6 separate regions of the Homo sapiens genome follow, and regions 2, 3, 4, 5 and 6 are each linked to region 1. The links are contacts of gene promoters, found by promoter capture Hi-C in human tissues and cell types (Jung and others, 2019). All regions are on one chromosome and are shown on one strand. The core of a region is centred on a gene start or on the middle of the fragment in contact, and the rest is flanking DNA. Distances in the headings are between cores, read along the strand shown.

Evidence for each region. The method cuts DNA at HindIII sites, captures the fragments that hold promoters and counts their contacts. A contact is called where the count stands out against the background at its distance.
Region 2: a contact is called between a fragment that was not itself captured here and the fragment with the promoter of TUBG2 in region 1, in 1 of the 25 tissues and cell types used here (aorta).
Region 3: a fragment that was not itself captured here is called in contact with the fragment with the promoter of TUBG2 in region 1 in 1 of the 25 tissues and cell types used here (aorta).
Region 4: a fragment that was not itself captured here is called in contact with the fragment with the promoter of TUBG2 in region 1 in 1 of the 25 tissues and cell types used here (liver).
Region 5: the fragment with the promoter of AARSD1 here is called in contact with the fragment with the promoter of TUBG2 in region 1 in 1 of the 25 tissues and cell types used here (adrenal gland).
Region 6: a contact is called between a fragment that was not itself captured here and the fragment with the promoter of TUBG2 in region 1, in 5 of the 25 tissues and cell types used here (dorsolateral prefrontal cortex, liver, lymphoblastoid cells and 2 more).

What each region holds. Positions count from the first base shown.
Region 1 is chr17:42,657,556-42,660,703 of GRCh38, forward strand. It overlaps TUBG2 (tubulin gamma 2), which reads left to right and starts at 1,729. Exons shown (of 11, transcript NM_016437.3): 1 at 1,729-1,997; 2 at 2,279-2,391; 3 at 2,594-2,761; 4 at 3,084-3,148. The coding sequence starts at 1,949. RefSeq lists enhancers at 1,561-2,328, 1,686-1,745, 1,756-1,825, 1,876-1,945. The HindIII fragment of the contact is 23,957 bases long and covers 1-3,148 here.
Region 2 is chr17:43,013,427-43,016,574 of GRCh38, forward strand. It overlaps IFI35 (interferon induced protein 35), which reads left to right. Exons shown (of 7, transcript NM_001330230.2): 5 at 50-236; 6 at 350-456; 7 at 682-1,030. The coding sequence ends at 873. VAT1 (vesicle amine transport 1) reads right to left here. Exons shown (of 6, transcript NM_006373.4): 5 at 2,881-3,122; 6 at 1,181-2,718. The coding sequence ends at 2,635. Among named protein-coding and RNA genes, the nearest start is that of VAT1, 7.4 kb to the right of the region's middle. The HindIII fragment of the contact is 4,481 bases long and covers 1-3,148 here.
Region 3 is chr17:42,304,323-42,307,470 of GRCh38, forward strand. STAT5A (signal transducer and activator of transcription 5A) reads left to right here. Exons shown (of 19, transcript NM_001288718.2): 10 at 20-107; 11 at 208-330; 12 at 1,288-1,380; 13 at 1,919-2,125; 14 at 3,080-3,148. Among named protein-coding and RNA genes, the nearest start is that of STAT5A, 17 kb to the left of the region's middle. The HindIII fragment of the contact is 6,096 bases long and covers 1-3,148 here.
Region 4 is chr17:42,337,837-42,340,984 of GRCh38, forward strand. It overlaps STAT3 (signal transducer and activator of transcription 3), which reads right to left. Exons shown (of 24, transcript NM_139276.3): 5 at 1,478-1,573; 6 at 895-976; 7 at 1-21. Among named protein-coding and RNA genes, the nearest start is that of STAT3, 49 kb to the right of the region's middle. RefSeq lists a silencer at 1-17. The HindIII fragment of the contact is 7,087 bases long and covers 1-3,148 here.
Region 5 is chr17:42,962,556-42,965,703 of GRCh38, forward strand. It overlaps AARSD1 (alanyl-tRNA synthetase domain containing 1), which reads right to left and starts at 1,899. Exons shown (of 12, transcript NM_001261434.2): 1 at 1,847-1,899; 2 at 1,551-1,682. The coding sequence starts at 1,885. PTGES3L-AARSD1 (PTGES3L-AARSD1 readthrough) reads right to left here. Exons shown (of 17, transcript NM_001136042.2): 7 at 1,551-1,682. The HindIII fragment of the contact is 19,831 bases long and covers 1-3,148 here.
Region 6 is chr17:42,946,341-42,949,488 of GRCh38, forward strand. No RefSeq gene overlaps it. Among named protein-coding and RNA genes, the nearest start is that of AARSD1, 17 kb to the right of the region's middle. The HindIII fragment of the contact is 8,985 bases long and covers 1-3,148 here.

The DNA of each region.
Region 1 (3,148 bases), core at 479-2,978:
ACACCTGTAATCTCAGCTACTAGGGAGGCTGAGCCAGGAGAATCGCTTGAACCTGAGAGAGGCAGAGGTTGTAGTGAGCCGAGATCATGCCACTGCACTCCAACCTGGGCAACAGAGTGAGACTTAGTCTCAAAAAAAAAAAAAAATCTTAAGTGGCATTTACAGTGTTTGTGATTCTAGATCAGGCTACGTTTCATTCCATAAAATAAATAGAATGAGTGTTCAGATGAGTCAAGCACAGGTTAGTTTTTATGGACAAAAAAGGGTAGAGAAAAATAGAAACAGAAGGAAAAAAAGCAGATGGGTCCTTTCAAAGTTACTTTTCTTGTAAAAGGACTTCCGTATCATGCCGGCTCACACTGGCTTGTTTGGGGTTTTGGCTCTTCCTTCCCTCTCCTGATTCCTCTGAAGGTTTGATAAACAACTTAGTGTTGCTTAGTGACATAGAACTTTAGCGTGAGTGACTCCATTTTGGTTTGGTCTGTTGAGCCAAGCACAGGAGCTCAGTGCAAATCAATGGCCTCCTATAAAATTTATTTAACTGAACCCTTGTGCATTGCTGGTGGGAATTTAAAATGGTGCAGCTACCATGGAAAATCGTATGGCGATTCCTCAGAACATTAAACACAATTACCATATGATCCAGCAATTCTACCTCTGGGTGTATATCCAAAATAATTGAAAGCAGGGACTCGAACAGATATTTGTACACTCACATTCAAAGCAGCAACATTCACAATAGCCAAAAGGTGGAAGCAACCCAAATGTCCATGGAGGGATGAATGGTTATGCAAAATGTGGTACATCTATACAATGGAATATTATTCAGTTGTAAAAAGGAAGGAAATTCTGACACATGCTACGAAATGGAAGGATCTTGAAGATATTATGTTAAGTGAAAGAAGCCAGACCCAAAAAGACAAATACTGTATAATTCCACTCATATCAGGTGCCTAGAGTAGTCAAGGGGAAGTTACTGTTTAATCGCGATAGAGTTTCAGTTTGGGAAGATAAGAAAGTTCTAGAAAAGAATGGTGGTGGTGGTTACAGAACAATGTGAGTGTACTTGGTGCCACAGAACTGTATGCAGTACTTACAAATGGTTACAATGGTAAATTTAGGCCAGGAGTGGTGGCTCATGCCTGTAATCCCAGCATTTTGGGAGGCCAAGGCAGGAGGATTGATTGAGGCCAGTAGTTTAAGACCATCTTGGGCAACACGGTGAGATCCCCATCTCTATAAAAATACATTTTAAAAATTTAAAAATTAGCTGGGCGTGGTAGCACACGCCTGTAGTCCCAGCTACTCGGGAGACTGAAGTGGGAGGATCACTTAAGCCAGAAGTTCAAGGCTACAGTGAGCTATGATCGCGCCACTGCACTCCAGCCTGGGCGACAGAGCGAGACCCTTCTAAAAAATAAAAAGGTAACATACATGTGTATGTATTGTAACACCATTAAAAAACAGAAATTTAAACGAAGAAAAGTTGGCTTCTAGCCCTTTGATCTAGCAAAGCTGACAGTGTCCTCACCTACCAATATAGGTAGATGACTCCTTACACGTGGACAAGCACATCCACCTGGCCGCTTCTCCCCTTTCCTCCCCTCCCCCGTTCCTCTCCTCCCCAACACATCCAGGTTCCGACCCTGCCACCCCCAACGAGTCTCACTGCGCAGGCGCGGAGCGGTGGGCAGGAGCGGGCGTGGCCTGACTCTGCGCCTGTGCGGAATTCCAGCTGCGACTGCTGAGGGAGAAAATGATGCCCAGGTTGGGCTCCCCGGCCCACCGGCCGAGGAGAGGCCTGCGCTGCACACGCGCAGACCGAGCATCCGCGTCAAGAGGCGAAGAGAGCGCGCGCTCCCCACGTCCTGCGCTCCTGGCTGCCGGGCATTCGTCTCAGCCGTGACTCTCGCCAGGCCGGGGCTGGCGCGCCCACGTCTGAAGAGCGATGCCCCGGGAGATCATCACCCTGCAGCTGGGCCAGTGCGGCAACCAGAGTGAGCAAGCGAGCGCCGGCCCCGCCGGTCTCTGGTTCTGCCCCTTCGGGTCCCACCCAAGTGCCTGGCTTCCACCAGTCCCCCTTTCCCTTCCATGAACCCCCTGCCCTGCTGCTCTGGATAACCCAGACCGAGAGCTGCGCCTCCAGCCCGGGGCTGGGGCAGCTACCAAACCCAGGCATCTTGGGTCCACCCTCTGATCGTGTCAGCCTCTGAGACTAAAACTGGGCTCCTCAGGCCTTAAGGCTCCAGCAGACCCGGGCATCTCCCCCCTCCCCCAGTTGGGTTCGAGTTCTGGAAACAGCTGTGCGCCGAGCATGGTATCAGCCCCGAGGGCATCGTGGAGGAATTCGCCACCGAGGGCACTGACCGCAAGGACGTCTTTTTCTACCAGGTGCCCCCAGCGACTTGGCCGGGGGCGGCAGTGGCCCAAGGGGGCGGAAGGGAAGGGAGTGGCCTGGTACTGGGAACCCCGCTGGGCAGTAGGGCCAGGCGGCTGGCTTGAGGAGGGAGGGCCGGAGGGAGCCAGAGTTGGGAGGACTTCGGACTTGGGCCGCCCTAGCTGATTGGGCCCCCTCCTGGACTCCCCTTGACAGGCAGACGATGAGCACTACATCCCCCGGGCCGTGCTGCTGGACTTGGAACCCCGGGTGATCCACTCCATCCTCAACTCCCCCTATGCCAAGCTCTACAACCCAGAGAACATCTACCTGTCGGAACATGGAGGAGGAGCTGGCAACAACTGGGCCAGCGGATTCTCCCAGGTGTCCTAGCGACCATTCCAGAGACCTTTGATATTCCCATCCAGAGGCAAGGCAGGCTCAAGCTACTAGGAATTTGACCTGACTGACAGAAAATAAGAGACAAAAGGATGTCCCGAACAAGAGGGACAGCCAGGGAGAGGTTTATGCAAATTTTGTGCAAATCATTTGCAATAGTAGCACTTCTGGGTTGAGGGCTACAGCCTAGGCTCTGCTTCAGGGTGGCAACAATATTCCAGGGTAGACAGAATTCTTGGTGCTGTGCTGAGAAAAGATGCTCTCTGGAACCTTTGGCCTGACCCTCCCTTTCCATATCTCTATACAGGGTGAGAAAATTCATGAAGACATCTTTGACATCATAGACCGAGAAGCAGATGGAAGTGACAGTTT
Region 2 (3,148 bases), core at 192-2,691, 360 kb after region 1:
TGGGGAAGTGGAGCTGTGTCTGGGACCACCCCTTGCTGTCTCCCCCTAGATGTCCAGCCAGTTGAGTGGCCGGAGGGTGTTGGTCACTGGATTTCCTGCCAGCCTCAGGCTGAGTGAGGAGGAGCTGCTGGACAAGCTAGAGATCTTCTTTGGCAAGACTAGGAACGGAGGTGGCGATGTGGACGTTCGGGAGCTACTGCCAGGGAGTGTCATGCTGGGGTTTGCTAGGGATGGAGGTGAGGGCTATGCAGGCCTCCTGCAGGGGAGAGGGTATAGGGTGTGCAAGATTACGGTGCAGGGAGAGGAGAGGGCTTGATGCTAAAGGCCCACCCCTCCTTGCTCCCCACAGTGGCTCAGCGTCTGTGCCAAATCGGCCAGTTCACAGTGCCACTGGGTGGGCAGCAAGTCCCTCTGAGAGTCTCTCCGTATGTGAACGGGGAGATCCAGAAGGCTGAGGTAAGCAGGAGGGGTGAAGAACAGGGGCTGGGCTGGGTAACCTGTCTGCCTGCCAGGAACTTGCCCAATGAAGGATCAGAGGCCCCAAACCCCACTGACCTACCTACCCACCATCAGCCTCTCCAGGCCTCCCGACCTCATACCCCCATGGGGCACTGCCTGCCCTACCCCCAGCCCCCAGCCCTTCTCCCATGAGCCTTTGCCATCTCCTGGCTCCTTTTCCAGATCAGGTCGCAGCCAGTTCCCCGCTCGGTACTGGTGCTCAACATTCCTGATATCTTGGATGGCCCGGAGCTGCATGACGTCCTGGAGATCCACTTCCAGAAGCCCACCCGCGGGGGCGGGGAGGTAGAGGCCCTGACAGTCGTACCCCAAGGACAGCAGGGCCTAGCAGTCTTCACCTCTGAGTCAGGCTAGGGGCCTCCCCTTCTCATCCTCCCCACCCCCCCGCCAAGGTTCTCACACTGGCCTGGGCTTGGGTGCCCATATAGGAGGTCTGTATGTTCACCAACAGTGCGGAGGGGTCACACATTGCAAAACACTGCCCAGAACAGTAAAAAGAGCCTGCATGCCATGATGTTCTTCCTCATTTCACTCATGAAAGGAAACGTGATTTGGGCATGGAAAGAGGCAGGGGGCAGGAAGCAGCCCAGATCTTCTGCTGGCAGCACTAGCCTTCCAGGAGCTCACCTTCCCTCCACTCTCAGAGGCAACAAGCAGGACCCAGGGTTTGGCTTTTTATTGACACAAACACACAAAGGCAGCTGTGGTAATGGGGTGGTGGGGTACACAAAAGCAGAAATCGCACTTCACACATTTAGGCCTCATTTAGACAATGAGGAGGCTGAGCCTGTCCCTCCACCTCCCATTGCAATGGTTGGGGCAATAACCCTCCCTAATCCTAGCTCAGTGAGTAGAGGGAGTGACCTCCCTACCCAGGAAGTCCCCATTTTGGTTGCAATGGCCCAGGTCCTGACCATCCCACTCTGTACTTCCCTGCTCCATCTCCCCACCCATGTAAACAGAGTTTTGGGCTGAGTTTGATAAGCTGCCTCTCTGCTTTGAGAAGGCAGTAGGGCCTCCCCTAACTGCAAGGGGAATGTGCTTGGATTTTTACTTTGGTCCCAGTACAAGAAACAGACAGCACTGCCTTTCAGAGCTCTGGCTAGTAAATGCCACACATATCTGCAAGGCTGAGGAAGCTTCCCCGCCTTTCTCCTCAACCACCATAGAGACGGGACATGGCACAGACCACGATGAGGGCACCTGTTTTTGCCCTGCCTCCCCAGGAGGCTTGGGGCTGCCCCACCCAATGGCACATACACAGATTTTTGGCAGTGTTGTGGGACTGGGGAGGAGAGAAACCCCAGCTCCACCAGAACAAGGAAGGCACTGGGGAGTACAGGGGAGGAGAAGGAGGTGGGAAACAGGATCCTCCCTCCCCGCCGCCACACACACACAAGCACAGGTTTTCGTTGCTAAGGCACTGAGAACAAATCCAGAGAACTCAGTGAAGGGTGGGGGCTCTGTATCCTTCCCAGAGTTGTGACCTAGGGGAGTAGGTCTGATTCCCGCCCTGTTGGAAGAGGCAGCCTTGGTTAAGAATGGCAGAAAACCTGGAGATGGAAGAAGCCCAATTGTGCTTAAGAAGTTGGGGACAGAGGACGAGATTGGGAACTGGTCAAGCCCAGAGGCGGGCACTGGTCAGCCCAGGCTGAAGGGACACTAGGGAGAGACAGGTACATGCTGGACTCACAGAGATTGGCCCCATATCCTGAGCTGACGTTTCAATTCTTTGGGGAGGTGGCGGGGCAGGGACGGGAGGAAAGATGAGGCAGAGGTGAAAGCACATGGAACACAACAGGGGGGACTGGCTAACCTTGGCACAAAAGCAGCACAGCAGGCCCGGGGAAAGGGTGGGGGCAGGAAGCAGCCGGCCTCCCTCTGACCCTCCCTGTCGCCTTGGCAGGGCCCAGACATCCAAATGGTCACTTCCCAACCTCTTCAGAGGTCAGGAAGCGGGGAGGGGCAGGGGAGAGCGGTCATCACCACAGAGACCTTCGGGGGAGGGAGGGCAGAGCATTATGACAGAGGCTGAAATGCAAGTCTGGTGGCCAACAGAACGTAGCTTCCCAACTTCTCCCTTCGCTGGTCTCTAGGGTCTCACAGCCACTTGCCCTAGTTCTCCTTCTCTGGCCCTGGAACCAGGAGGACCTTGCCCACATTCTTCTTCTCCTGCATCTGTTTCATGGCATCAGCCACCTGGGGAGGAAGGAAAGATGCGGCTCCCAGTGCTATCCAACCCTCATCCAACAAGAGCCAGTGTGATGCAGGCAGCCCTCCTCTTCCCCAGGAATCTGCCCCTTGGGACCCCAGCCTTCATGAGTCCTACCCAAGCCCTCCCTGCAAAGTCCTCACATTCACCTTCTCGAAGGGCCAGACTGAGTCAATGTGGGGCTTGATGTGGCCCTGGTTGTACAGAGCCAGGAGGCGGGCCACCACACCACTGACCAGCTCCACCTCACCATCCAGGTAGCCCAGGTGGAAGCCACACACAGCCCGGTTGGCCTGCAGCAGCTGCAGAGCTGTCACGCTGAACTGATTCCACCATGTCCGGGCCAGGGCCATCAGGTTCCGTTTGGGGCCCGTCAGCAGGTTGGCCATTCCTGAAGGACAAGGTGACATAGCCTGT
Region 3 (3,148 bases), core at 310-2,809, 350 kb before region 1:
ACCCCCCTCTCCTTTGCAGCGAGTGCAGTGGTGAGATCCTGAACAACTGCTGCGTGATGGAGTACCACCAAGCCACGGGCACCCTCAGTGCCCACTTCAGGAACATGGTGAGGACGGGGCCCACCCTCGGAGGGCAGGTCTGCCCAGAGCTGAGTCCTTGTAAGCAGCCGCCATCTCCCTGTTCCCCTGTCACCTCCCACCCTGCAGTCACTGAAGAGGATCAAGCGTGCTGACCGGCGGGGTGCAGAGTCCGTGACAGAGGAGAAGTTCACAGTCCTGTTTGAGTCTCAGTTCAGTGTTGGCAGCAATGAGCTTGTGTTCCAGGTGAAGGTGAGACCCCCAGCCCTCCTGCCCCCACTGCTCCAGGTCACCCAAGAGGTGGAGGGGCCTGCCTCAGGACTCCTGGCAGCAATGCCATCGGACAGCCTGCTTTGACTCTGTGGGTCCCTGTTTGATAGGTTATAATCTGGGACTAACCCAGACAATTTAGGCAATGGGCTAAGAAGAAGTCGGTTGTAGTTTTTGTTTGTTTGCTTGTGCCTACATTTTGCTGGGAGGGGCTTGTGTTTGGAACTGTGGGTGAGGAAAGTGGGTTGGGACCAGGTGTGGTGGCTCTCACCTGTAATTCCAGCATTTTGGGAGGCAGAAGAGGGAGGACTGCTTGAGTCCAGGAGTTCAAGACTAGCCTGGGCAGCATAGTGAGAACCCGTATCTACAAAAAAAAGAAAAAAGTTGGGCATGGTGGCCTGCACCTGTAGTCCCAGCTATTCTGGAGGCTGAGGCAGGAGGATCACTTGAGCCCAGGAGGTCAAGGCTGCAGTGAGCTGTGATTGCACCACTGCCCTCCAGTCTGGGCGACCGAGCGAGACCCTGTCTCGAAGAAAATAAAGCAGATTGCGGCCATGGGTGGTGGGTCTTGCCTGTAATCCCAGCACTTTGGGAGGCCAAGGAGGGTGGATCACCTGAGGTCAGGGGTTCGAGATCAACCTGACCAACATGGAGAAACCCCGTCTCTACTAAAAATACAAAATTAGCCAGGTGTGGTGACACATGCCTGTAATCCCAGCTACTTGGGAAGCTGAGGCAGGAGAATCGCTTGAACCCGGGAGGCAGAGGTTGTGGTGAGCCGAGATTGCACCATTGCACTCCAGCCTGGGCAACAAGAGTGAAACTCCATATCAAAAAAAAAAATACATAAAAAAAAATAAAGCAGATTGGGCATGTTGCCTAAGCAGAGGGCACGTGGTGGTCACGCCCCATCAACTTGGGTTCCTTTGACTCCTGTAGACTCTGTCCCTACCTGTGGTTGTCATCGTCCACGGCAGCCAGGACCACAATGCCACGGCTACTGTGCTGTGGGACAATGCCTTTGCTGAGCCGGTGAGTCCCCGTGGGAGCCCTACCCCAGCACCCCCAGGCCCTAGGACTCACCTGGGGTCAGCCCCACCCCTTGGGCCCCTGCTGAGTGGTCCTTCCTCACCCCAGGGCCAGCCCAGAGGTGAGGTGAGGCCAGAAGGGCTGGGGTGCTGGGCGCCTGCCTTCCACCATGGCCTTGGCACTCTGGGTTCCAGGTTCCTGGACTGGGGTCTGTGAGGACTGTGAGCTTGGTCTTTGGATCCTGGTCTGGGATCCTCCTTTGGCAGATGGCTTGGGTCCTTGCTCTCTGTTTTCTGTTTCCTGGTCTGCATCTCTGTCCCTGCATGCCCCCACCCCCTGCATCGGTTTTCTTCCCTGCAGGCTGGGAAAAAAAGTGCAAGCTAGTATATAAAAGCCGCCGCATTTCCTGCCCTTGCATTTGTGTCACCTTTCTGGATCTGTCTCAGTCTCCTCTGTCTCTAGGTGTCTGTGTATCTTGTGTGTGTGTGAATATTTCCAACTCCCTCAATCTACCTTTTCCCCTCTCTTGTCTCCCTCTCAGGGCAGGGTGCCATTTGCCGTGCCTGACAAAGTGCTGTGGCCGCAGCTGTGTGAGGCGCTCAACATGAAATTCAAGGCCGAAGTGCAGAGCAACCGGGGCCTGACCAAGGAGAACCTCGTGTTCCTGGCGCAGAAACTGTTCAACAACAGCAGCAGCCACCTGGAGGACTACAGTGGCCTGTCCGTGTCCTGGTCCCAGTTCAACAGGGTGAGGGGCCCAGCTGCCAGCCGCCCACCAGGGCCCACCGGGGTCTGTTGCTCCTCCACCTCACAGACAGGTTACTGCCTGGGGCTAGCACCCCACTCTCCACCCCCAACCACTCTCTCCTACAACCAGGAGAGATGGGGGCCCCTAGCCTCAAGAAATGCAGGCAGGGGCTATAGGAGTTGTGCTTAGTTGTGAAGCCAAGAGCGAGATGACGGAGGGCCCAGGGCTGGGAGTCAGGATCCTTGGGTTCTGGGCCTAGATGTGTTTGCTAATTTTCTTTTTTTTTTTTAGAGACAGAATCTCATTCTGTCACCCAGGCTGGAGTGCAGTGGCGTGATTTCAGCTTACTGTAACCTCTGCCTCCCGGGTTCAAGTGATTCTCGTGCCTCAGCCTCCTGAGTAGCTGGAATTATAGGTGCCTGCCACCATGCTGGGCTAATTTTTGTATTTTTAGTAGAGATGGGGTTTCACCATGTTGGTCAGGCTGGTCTCGAACTCCTGACCTCAGGTGATCCGCCCACCTCGGCCTCCCAAAGTGCTGGGATTACAGGCGTGAGCCACCACGCCTGTGGCTCTGGCTCTCCTTCTGCCTCTCTCCTTGCTAATTTTTGAAGACCCATCCATTCTCTGTGCCTCAGTTTCCCCACCTGTAAAATGAGGGGATGACTTTGGAGGAATGACTTTGGAGGCCCCATCCAGCCTAGATTATTCTTTACACCTCTTACTCCCACCCTTGGGCTGGTCTTGGACCCCTGTGTCTTAGAAGTGAGTTTCCTCTCTGTTTTCCTAGGGTACAAGTTGGGGGCTGTGTCACTTTATGGTCTGCTGGAGTGTGGTGGCAAGCAGGGGTGAAGAACTGGGAGAAGACTGGGTGGGGGCAGGAGGGCCCTGACTTTCCTGGGCCACCTGTGACCTGGGGCACCAGCCCTGACTCGGGGGTTCCTGGGCCCTCAGGAGAACTTGCCGGGCTGGAACTACACCTTCTGGCAGTGGTTTGACGGGGTGATGGAGGTGTTGAAGAAG
Region 4 (3,148 bases), core at 1-2,500, 320 kb before region 1:
TTCCATTCAGATCTTGCATGTCTGCGAAGGAAGAAAAAACTCCTTGACCTGAGGGAATACTCCTTGACCTGAGGGAATACTCCTTGACCTGAGGGAATACTCCTGGACCTGAGGGAATACTCCTGGACCTGAGGGAATACTCCTGGACCTGAGGGAATACTCCTTGACCTGAGGGAATACTCCTGGACCTGAGGGAATACTCCTGGACCTGAGGGAATACTCCTGGACCTGAGGGAATACTCCTGGACCTGAGGGAATACTCCTGGACCTGAGGGAATACTCCTGGACCTGAGGGAATACTCCTGGACCTGAGGGAATACTCCTGGACCTGAGGGAATACTCCTTGACCTGAGGGAATACTCCTGGACCTGAGGGAATACTCCTGGACCTGAGGGAATACTCCTGGACCTGAGGGAATACTCCTTGACCTGAGGGAATACTCCTGGACCTGAGGGAATACTCCTGGACCTGAGGGAATACTCCTGGACCTGAGGGAATACTCCTGGACCTGAGGGAATACTCCTGGACCTGAGGGAATACTCCTTGACCTGAGGGAATACTCCTGGACCTGAGGGAATACTCCTGGACCTGAGGGAATACTCCTGGACCTGAGGGAATACTCCTGGACCTGAGGGAATACTCCTGGACCTGAGGGAATACTCCTTGACCTGAGGGAATACTCCTTGACCTGAGGGAATACTCCTGGACCTGAGGGAATACTCCTGGACCTGAGGGAATACTCCTGTCCTTAATGACCAGGCTCCTTTGAGGACCCGTACCTCCCTTGCGCCCCGCCCGCCTTAAGATCTAAACAGAGTTAAGACAAATGAGTCTTTCAACTCAACAACACAAACTCACTTTCTAGAGATTTTAACATCTCTAATATTCACTTGCCTCCTTGACTCTTGAGGGTTTTATAGTTGAAATCAAAGTCATCCTGGAGATTCTCTACCACTTTCATTTTCTGTTCTAGATCCTGTTTAAAATAAGCAAACAAAAAAACAGAAGTAAAGAAAGATTTCCTTGGGAACAGAAAATATAAAGTTTCTGAGGAGAATTCAAATGAAGCCAAAACCTCAAAAAAGATACATGCAGGACCTGCAGGCAGTATCCCCAAGAGAAGGCTCCCTGTTGGCCAGGTGCAGTGGCTCACGCCTGTAATGCCAGCACTTTGAGAGGCTGAGTTGGGAGGATCACTTGAGCCCAGGAGTTCATGATCAGCCTGGACAACACAGGGAGACCCCCATCTCTACAAATTTTTTTTTTTTAATTAGCTGGGCGTGGTGGTGCATGCCTGTGGTCCCGGCTACTTGGGAGGATGAGGTAGGAGGATCGCTTGGGCCTGAGAGGTCGAGGCTGCAGTGAGCTGTGATCATGCCACTGCAGCCCAGCCTGAGTGGCAGAGCAAGACCCTGTCTCAAAAAAAAAAAAAAAAATTAATGAAAGCTCCCTGCCCGAGGCTTGTAACTTGCATCACCTGCACTCTCTTCCGGACATCCTGAAGGTGCTGCTCCAGCATCTGCTGCTTCTCCGTCACCACGGCTGCTGTGGGGTGGTTGGCCTGGCCCCCTTGCTGCCAAAAAGGAGGTCAATGCACATGTGAACACAGAACTATGGGGAGAGGAATACCTCTACCCAGCTTCCATCCCACCCTAACTACCCTTCTTGTTTGGCTTGAGACGCTGCTGCCATCACAAGAGGAAGGGAAACAGAGGCAGTGGTGCTGTCACTACACAGGTGACACTACACAGGTCATACCATAAACCCCCTTTATGGCACTAAGAGACCACATGTTCAGCTAAGACATGGTCTATGCCTTCAAAAACCTCATGGGCAAGTATGTCAAAAAATTCAAAACAATTTATGACAGCAGATGTTGGATGTCTACTTAAACGTGGTGTCCAGTATATTTCTGAGGGATAATAAAAAAAAAGTCCTGCCCTAGGGATGAAATTCCATATTAAAAGATATTATCTTGGGGAGAAGGGGAGGCTGGTACCTTGGAAAATGTCAAATAGCACATGGAAAAAGAAAAAGAAGAAAGAAGGCTGGATGTAGCAGCTCACACCTATAATATCAGCACTTGGGAAGGCTGAAGTGGGAGGACTGCTTGAGGCCAGGAGTTCAAAACTAGCCTAGTCAACATAGTGAGGCCCCATCTCGAATGAATAAATGAATGAATGAATTAAAGAAATAACAAAAAATAAATAGCATATGAAACTTAAAAATTACAGGTTCGTGCCAGGTGCGGTGGCTGATGCCTGTAATCCCAGCACTTTGGGAGGCCAAGGTGGGCAGATTACCTGAGGTCAGGAGTTTGAGACCAGCCTGACCGACACGGAGAAACCCATCTCTACTAAAAATACAAAGTTAGCTGAGCTTGGTGGTGCATGCCTGTAATCCCAGCTACTCGGGAGGCTGAGGAAGGAGAATCGCCTGAACCCGGGAGGTGGAGGTTGTGGTGAGCCAAGACTGCGCCATGCACTCCAGCCTGAGCAACAAAAGTGAAACTCCATCTCAAAAAAAAAAAAAAAAAATTACAGGCTTGGGCTAGGCATGGTAGCTCCCACCTATAATCCTAGCACTTTGGGAAACCAAGGCAGGAGGATCACTTGAGGCTGGGAGTTTGAGACCGGCCCAGGGAACATAGAAAGAGACCTCATCTCAACCAAAAAAAAAAAAAAATTTTTTTTTAACTAGCTGGGCATGGTGGCATATACCTGTAGTTCTAGCTACTTGGGAGGCTGAGGTGGGAGGATCATTTAAGTCCAGAAGTTTGAGGCCACACTACAGCCAGTTTTATGGGCAACCATTCTCTTCCTTTCCCATGGTCCCTATCCAAGCCCACAGAATACAAACTTCTTAGAAGTTTTGGGAAGGTGACCCATGCCCCTACTTCTTCCCACAGTGACAGTGACTCATCTGATTGGTAAGATGGAGAGAAAGACTCTGTGTACACACAGATCTTCAAAGAACCCAGCACCTAAGCTGGTGCCTCCCTCCTCTCACTCTTGCCTTCCTAGGGCCCACCATAAGCAAGAGCAGCAGCCTGGTTTCTAGAAGCAGGTCTAGAGGCCTATCCCTCTGCCTTGTTGGTCTATGGCAGCTGAAGCTCCATATGGATGGCTGGGGTGGGGTGGGGGTGCTG
Region 5 (3,148 bases), core at 649-3,148, 310 kb after region 1:
CTGAAAGAAATGCTGTCTAAAATGAGACCTTCTATGGATACTTGAGGTCACAGGTTTTCCTTCAGCAGATCAGGGAAATCTTCATACTGGGAAAATCACCATAATAATGACTGATATGAAATTGGAACTCTCTCAATACCAAGTCTACTGAACATGTTCTCTCATGTCACTTATTTGCTTAAGAACCTGAGTGGAGGCCAGGGCAGTGGCTCACACCTGTAGGCCCAGCCTTTGGGAGGCCAAGGTGGGAGGACTGTTTGAGGCCAGGAGCTCAAGATCAGCCTGGGCAATAAAGTGAGACCTCATCTCTACAAAAAAGCAGCCAAGCATGTTGGTTGTGCGCCTGTAGTCCCCACTACTGGAGAGGCTAAAACAGGAGGATTGCTTGAGCCTGGGAGTTCGAGGCTGCAGTGAGCTAGATCAGGCCACTGCACTCCAGCCTGGGTGACATAGCAAGATCCTGTCTCTTAAAAATAAAAAAGAAAGAAAATAACCTGCATGGTTCGCTGCCCACACACCTTAATACACCTTTTTTTTTTCTTTTGAGACGGAGTCTTGTTCTGTCCCCCACGCTGAAGTGCAGTGGCACAATCTTGGCTCACTGCAACTTCAGCCTCCCGGTTCAAGTGATTCTCATGCCTCAGCCTCCCGAGTAGCTGGGACTACAGGGGCCTGCCAGTATGCCTGGTTAATTTTTATATTTTTAGTAGAGACAAGGTTTCATCATGTTGGTCAGGCTACTTGGGAGGCTGAGACAGGAGAATCACTTGAACCCAGGAGGCGGAGGTTGCAGAGCTGAGATCATGCCACTGCACTTCAGCCTGATGACAGCGAGAGATTCTGTCTCAAAAAAAAAAAGAAAGAAAGAAAGAAAAGAAAAGAAAGAAAAGCCTTTCTCATAATGCCCACCTTTGGTGTTATTATCCTCCTCTTCCATCTTCACAATGTACCTCACTTGCGCTCATGTTGTACCTAGTCCTCATCACAGCACTGATAAATATGCTCTCTGCTGTACTACTGTAACCCGTCTATCTCACCTGAACTCCTTCAGGAACATCTTTTTCAGTCCCTAAAACCCGAAGCTAATTCCTTCCTTGGGGCCTTTGCACCTGCTATTCTACCTGCCTGAATACTCCCTCTGCCCCCCAGCACCACTAGATAATTGCAAAGACTCACCCCCTCACTTCGTTTAGGTCTCTACTGAAATAACTTACCCTTCATCTAGACAAGCATCCCATCACTCTCTTTCCCTTTACTTGGTTTTTGTTTATTACTTATTATACCTAGCACACACAGTTGTCTTCAATAAACATTCCACGTATATAAAGGCACTGTGTTGTTCACCGGTTATCCTTACAGCCTGGAATAATATCTAGCATATGTTATGTCTAGATAAGCAATTGCTGATAAATACTCATTAAATGAATAACAAAATGAATTAAACTAAAGCTCATCTGAATTCATTATGGCTGAGAAAAAAGGGGCAGGAGAGCATTTCGGCCTGAGCACAAAGAAACTGGGGGCTTCCTGGGAAGAGATCGTTTTGGTACCTGTCCCCCGCCCTCAGGGAAAAGCACTGTGTCTTCCAGCACCACTTGGAAACCGCTCAGCACTTCTTTCTTGCCGTTGCTCCCTTCAGTCTGCAGCTCCGCGGGACAGCAGGAGACCACGGTGGTGGTGAACTGAACAGAGAGGAATGAGAGAATAAGCCCCGACCCCAGCCCTAGCCCTAGCCCTCTCCACACCAGGACAGAATGCCATGTTGGCACTCCCTACACGTGGCGCCCTCTTCCCCAAACCGCCTTGCCGGCCCGGCAGTCTCAAGTGCCTCGCCGTGACGCCGTACCTCTCGGGCATAACTGTCACGCTGACACCAGAACGCCATACCTGCAGGCGTGTGAGGAGGCGCACGCGCAGAGAAGCCTGGGAGCGAACGGAGAGCGACGTGGGACAAACGTCATCAAGGGCGCTTGTCTGCGCAGAAGCAGGAGGGTAAGGAATGGAATGCGGTTTGGATAAATTTACTGAAAACGCGAATTGCATATTTGCTGGGTTGTTTAACGACTGTTCTAAGGCTTTACAAAGGACAAGACCAGGAGGAAAAAAACAAACAAACAAAAACAAAAAAACGCGACCTGGACAAGGCACGTGGTTTAGTGAGCCCCTTGGGGCCCCAGGGATGTAAGTATTCTGGCTGCGGAATCCCAGCGCATAGAGGCGGGGACGGGACTGGCATGGTTACTGAGCAGCACTGCCCAGTAGAAATAGAAAGCAAGGAGCTGGGGGAGGTGGCTCACGCCTGTAATCCCAGCATTTTGGGAGGTCGAGGCGGGTGGATCACCTCAGGCCAGGAGTTCGAGACCAGCCTGGCCAACATAGCGAAACTCCGTCTCTACTAAAAATACAAAAATTAGCCGGGCGTGGTGGCGGGCGCCTGTAATCCCAGCTACCCGGGAGGCTGAGGCAGGAGAATCGCTGGAACCCGGGAGGCGGGGTTGCAGTGAGCAGAGATTGCACCACTGCACTCCAGCCTGGGCGACAGAGCGAGACTCCGTCTCAATTAAAAAAAAAAAAAAAAAAAAAAAAAAAGGCCGAGCGCGGTGACTCACGCCTGTAATCCCAGCACTTTGGGAGGCCGAGGCGGGCGGATCACGAGGTCAGGATATCGAGACCATCCTGACTAACGCGGTGAAATCCCGTCTCTACTAAAAATACAAAAAATTAGCCGGGCGTGGTGGCGGACGCCTGTAGTCCCAGCTACTCCGGAGGCTGAGGCAGGAGAATGGCGTGAACCTGGGAGGCGGAGCTTGCAGTGAGCCGAGATCGCACCATTGCACTCCAGCCTGGGCGACAGAGCGAGACTCCGTCTCAAAAAAAAAAAAAAAAAAAAAAAAGAAGAACAATTTGGCCAGCGTGGCCAACATGGTGAAACCCTGTTTCTACTAAAAACACAAAAACATTAGCCAGGCGTGGTGGCACACGCCTATATAATCCCAGCTACACGGGAGGCTGAGGCAGGAGAATCACTTTAACCCGAGAGGAGGAGGTTGCAGTGAGCCGAAATCGTACCACTGCACTCCAGCCTGGGTAACCCAGCGAGACTACGTCTCAAGAAAATTACATTACATTACATTAAAATAGTTTGGGC
Region 6 (3,148 bases), core at 318-2,817, 290 kb after region 1:
TGTGTTTGTTGTTGTTGTTGTTGTTGTTGTTGTTTTTGAGACGGAGCTTTGCTCTTGTTGCCTAGGCTGGATGGAGTGCAACGGCGCGATCTTGGCTCACTGCAACCTCCGCCTCCCGGGTTCAAGCAATTCTCCTACCTCAGCCTCCAGAGTAGCTGGGATTGCAGGCATGCGCCACCACACTTGGCTAATTTTGTATTTTTAGTAGAGGCGGGGTTTTTCCCATGTTGGTCAGGCTGATCTCAAACTCCCGACCTCAGGTGATCCACCTGCCTCAGCCTCCCAAAGTGTTGGGATTACAGGCATGAGCCACAGCGCCGGCCCTGAATTCAGTCTGTCTACTGCTCTGGGTCTCTTCCACCTGATACCTTTCATCTTTCATACTAACATCTGTTCTAGTACCTACATGCATCACCTTAGTGGAAGCTACAGCAGCTGTCTTCAGCAATTTATGGGTACGCACATAAAAAAATTTCCTTAGAAGCCAAGGAGTCCCCCTTACTATTTCTGTGCCGTAAAGTGGGTTATAGTAACATTCCAGAATATATAACCTGTGTGTGTACCTAAAACTTGATTACTCCAATAAATGAACTCATTTTGTTTCCTGGTGAACCTCATAAAAGACAATCCACCCCTTCCCCTGAACACACTCTGTTCTTCTCCCCCTCTCCCTGGGGCATTGGATTAGGGCCTCAGTGACAGGCAAGAATGACATCACCAGTTCAAAAACTGCTGCTTTATTTTCTCTTTCTTTATACAACCAATTACCATTTTCACATAATTTGCTCAAGTGTTTATGGCTTTTCTTAATTATTTCATAAGGTTCCTTCCTTCTTAGGACACCCAGTTCATGTGTCCATTTTCAGGTCAAGAAACTGAAGCTCAGGGAGTCTCAGCAGGGGGACCAGACATCCAGGCTACCTTAACACCGTCTGGGTTTCTGACTGTTGTTCTGGCATGAGGTTTGCCTAACTCTGGATATTAAAATTACATGGTTGCTCTAGGTCTAAGTGACAAGAACCCACCTGAGTGGTAGTGAGCAAGAGTGGCCTCCCAGGTCACTGTTCTTGTTGTTGCACCTGTGTTCTGAATCTTTGTGTACCCCTAAAAATTCATATGTTGAAATCCTAACCCCCTAAGTGGTATCAGGAGGTGGGCCCTTTAGCAGGTGATTAGGTCACGGGGGCAGAGCCTTCGTGAATGAAATTAGTGCATTATAAAAGAGGCCCGAGAGGGCTGGGTGCGGAGGCTCATGCCTGTAATCCCAGCACTTTGGGAGGCTGAGGCAGGCGGATCACCTGAGGTCAGGAGTTCGAGACCAGCCTGGCCAACATGGTGAAACCCCATCTCTACTAAAAATACAAAATATTAGCTGGGTGGGATGGCAGGCGCCTGTAATCCCAGCTACTCGGGAGGCTGAGGCAGGAGAATCACTTGAACCTAGGGGGTGGAGGTTGCAGTGAGCTGAGATTGCACCATTGCACTTCAGCCTGAGCAACAAGAGTGAAACTCCATCTGTCTCAAAAAAAAAAAAAAAAAAAAAAGGCCCAAGAAAGACCCCTTACCCTTTGCACCAAGGGTGCAAAAAGATGGCTATTCCTGAACCAGTATTTGAACCTTCACACCAGACACTGAATTTGCCAGCTTCCCAGCCTCCACTGTGAGAAATACATTTTTGTTGTTTATAAGCTACCTAGTTTTTGTTATTATAGCAGTCAGATCAGACTAAGGCACACCCTAAAGAAACAAACACAGAGAGGGACAGAGATCTCACACAGAGACAAATTCACATGGGTCTCTGTTCAAGATCCTGCCTGAGTCCTTCTACAAAAGTAAGGAAGCTTCTGTGAAGCAAACATTTCCCTTTCTCCCACTAATGGACCCATTTTGTATAGCATGAGTGTTACACTATGGTTTTATCTAAAACATGGCACTCTGAGAAAAGCAAGATGCAGAAGAGTATACAATGTGCTACCATTTATGTTTAAAAAGAGGGAAGATTTATGTACATCTATTTTTTAAAATACTACCAGAGGGATATATAAGAAATTGGTAACAGGCTGGGCATGGTGGCTCACGCCTGTAATCCCAACACTGGGAGGCCAAAGTGGACAAATTGCTAGAGCCCAGGAGTTCAAGACTAGTGTGGGCAACACGGCAAAGCACTGTCTCTAGAAAAAATACAAAAAATTAGCCAGGTGTGGTGGTGCACACCTCTAGTCCCAGCTACTCAGAGGGCTGAGGTGGGAGGATCACCTGTTCCCAGGAGGTTGAGACTGCAGTAAGCCATGATTGTGCCACTGCATTCCAGCCTGGGCAACAGAGTGAGACTATATCTGGAAAAAAAAAAAAAAAAAAGGCCAGGCATGGTGGCTCATACTTGTAATCCCAGCACTTTGGGAGGCCGAGGCCGGCGGATTACCTGAGGTCAGGAGCTCGAGACCAGCCTGGCCAACATGGTGAAACCCCATCTCTACTAAAAATACAAAATTAGCCGGGCATGGTGGCACATGCCTGTAATCCCAGCTACTCGGTAGGCTGAGGCAGGAGAATTGCTTGAACTCGGGAGGCGGAGGTTGCAGTGAGCGGAGACTGCGCCATTGCACTCCAGCCTGGGCAACAAGAGCGAAACTCCATCTAAAACAAAAAAATTAAGTGATTGATTCTGGAGAAAGAAATTGGGTAACTCAGTGGCAGGGTTGAAGGAAATTTTTGGTAGCACACACCTGTAATCCCAGCTACTTGGGTGGCTGAGGCACAAGAATTGCTTGAACCCAGGAAGCGGAGGTTGCAGTGAGCCAAAATCATGCCACTGCACTCCGGCCTAGGTGGCAGAACAAGACTCTTATCTCCAAAAAAAAAAAAAGTTCCTTTCAGAGTCGGAAGAACAAATAGCTGAACACAGCCACAGCCACAGCCACAGGTTATCTCCCCTGGATGTCAGCTTTTGTATTTCTCCTCTGTTATTTCATCCTGGCTGTCTAGGCCTTAACCATCTTTGTTCTAGCTAAAGCTGTGACTGGATCTTTGTTTTATCACCTTTCCTGGATGTGCAAATCCAGTATTTCTACCCAGGTCTGTGAAACTTCAAAGCCTGTGCTCCTGAACATATTATGCTTCCATTTGCTCTATCACTAATGAAAGATGA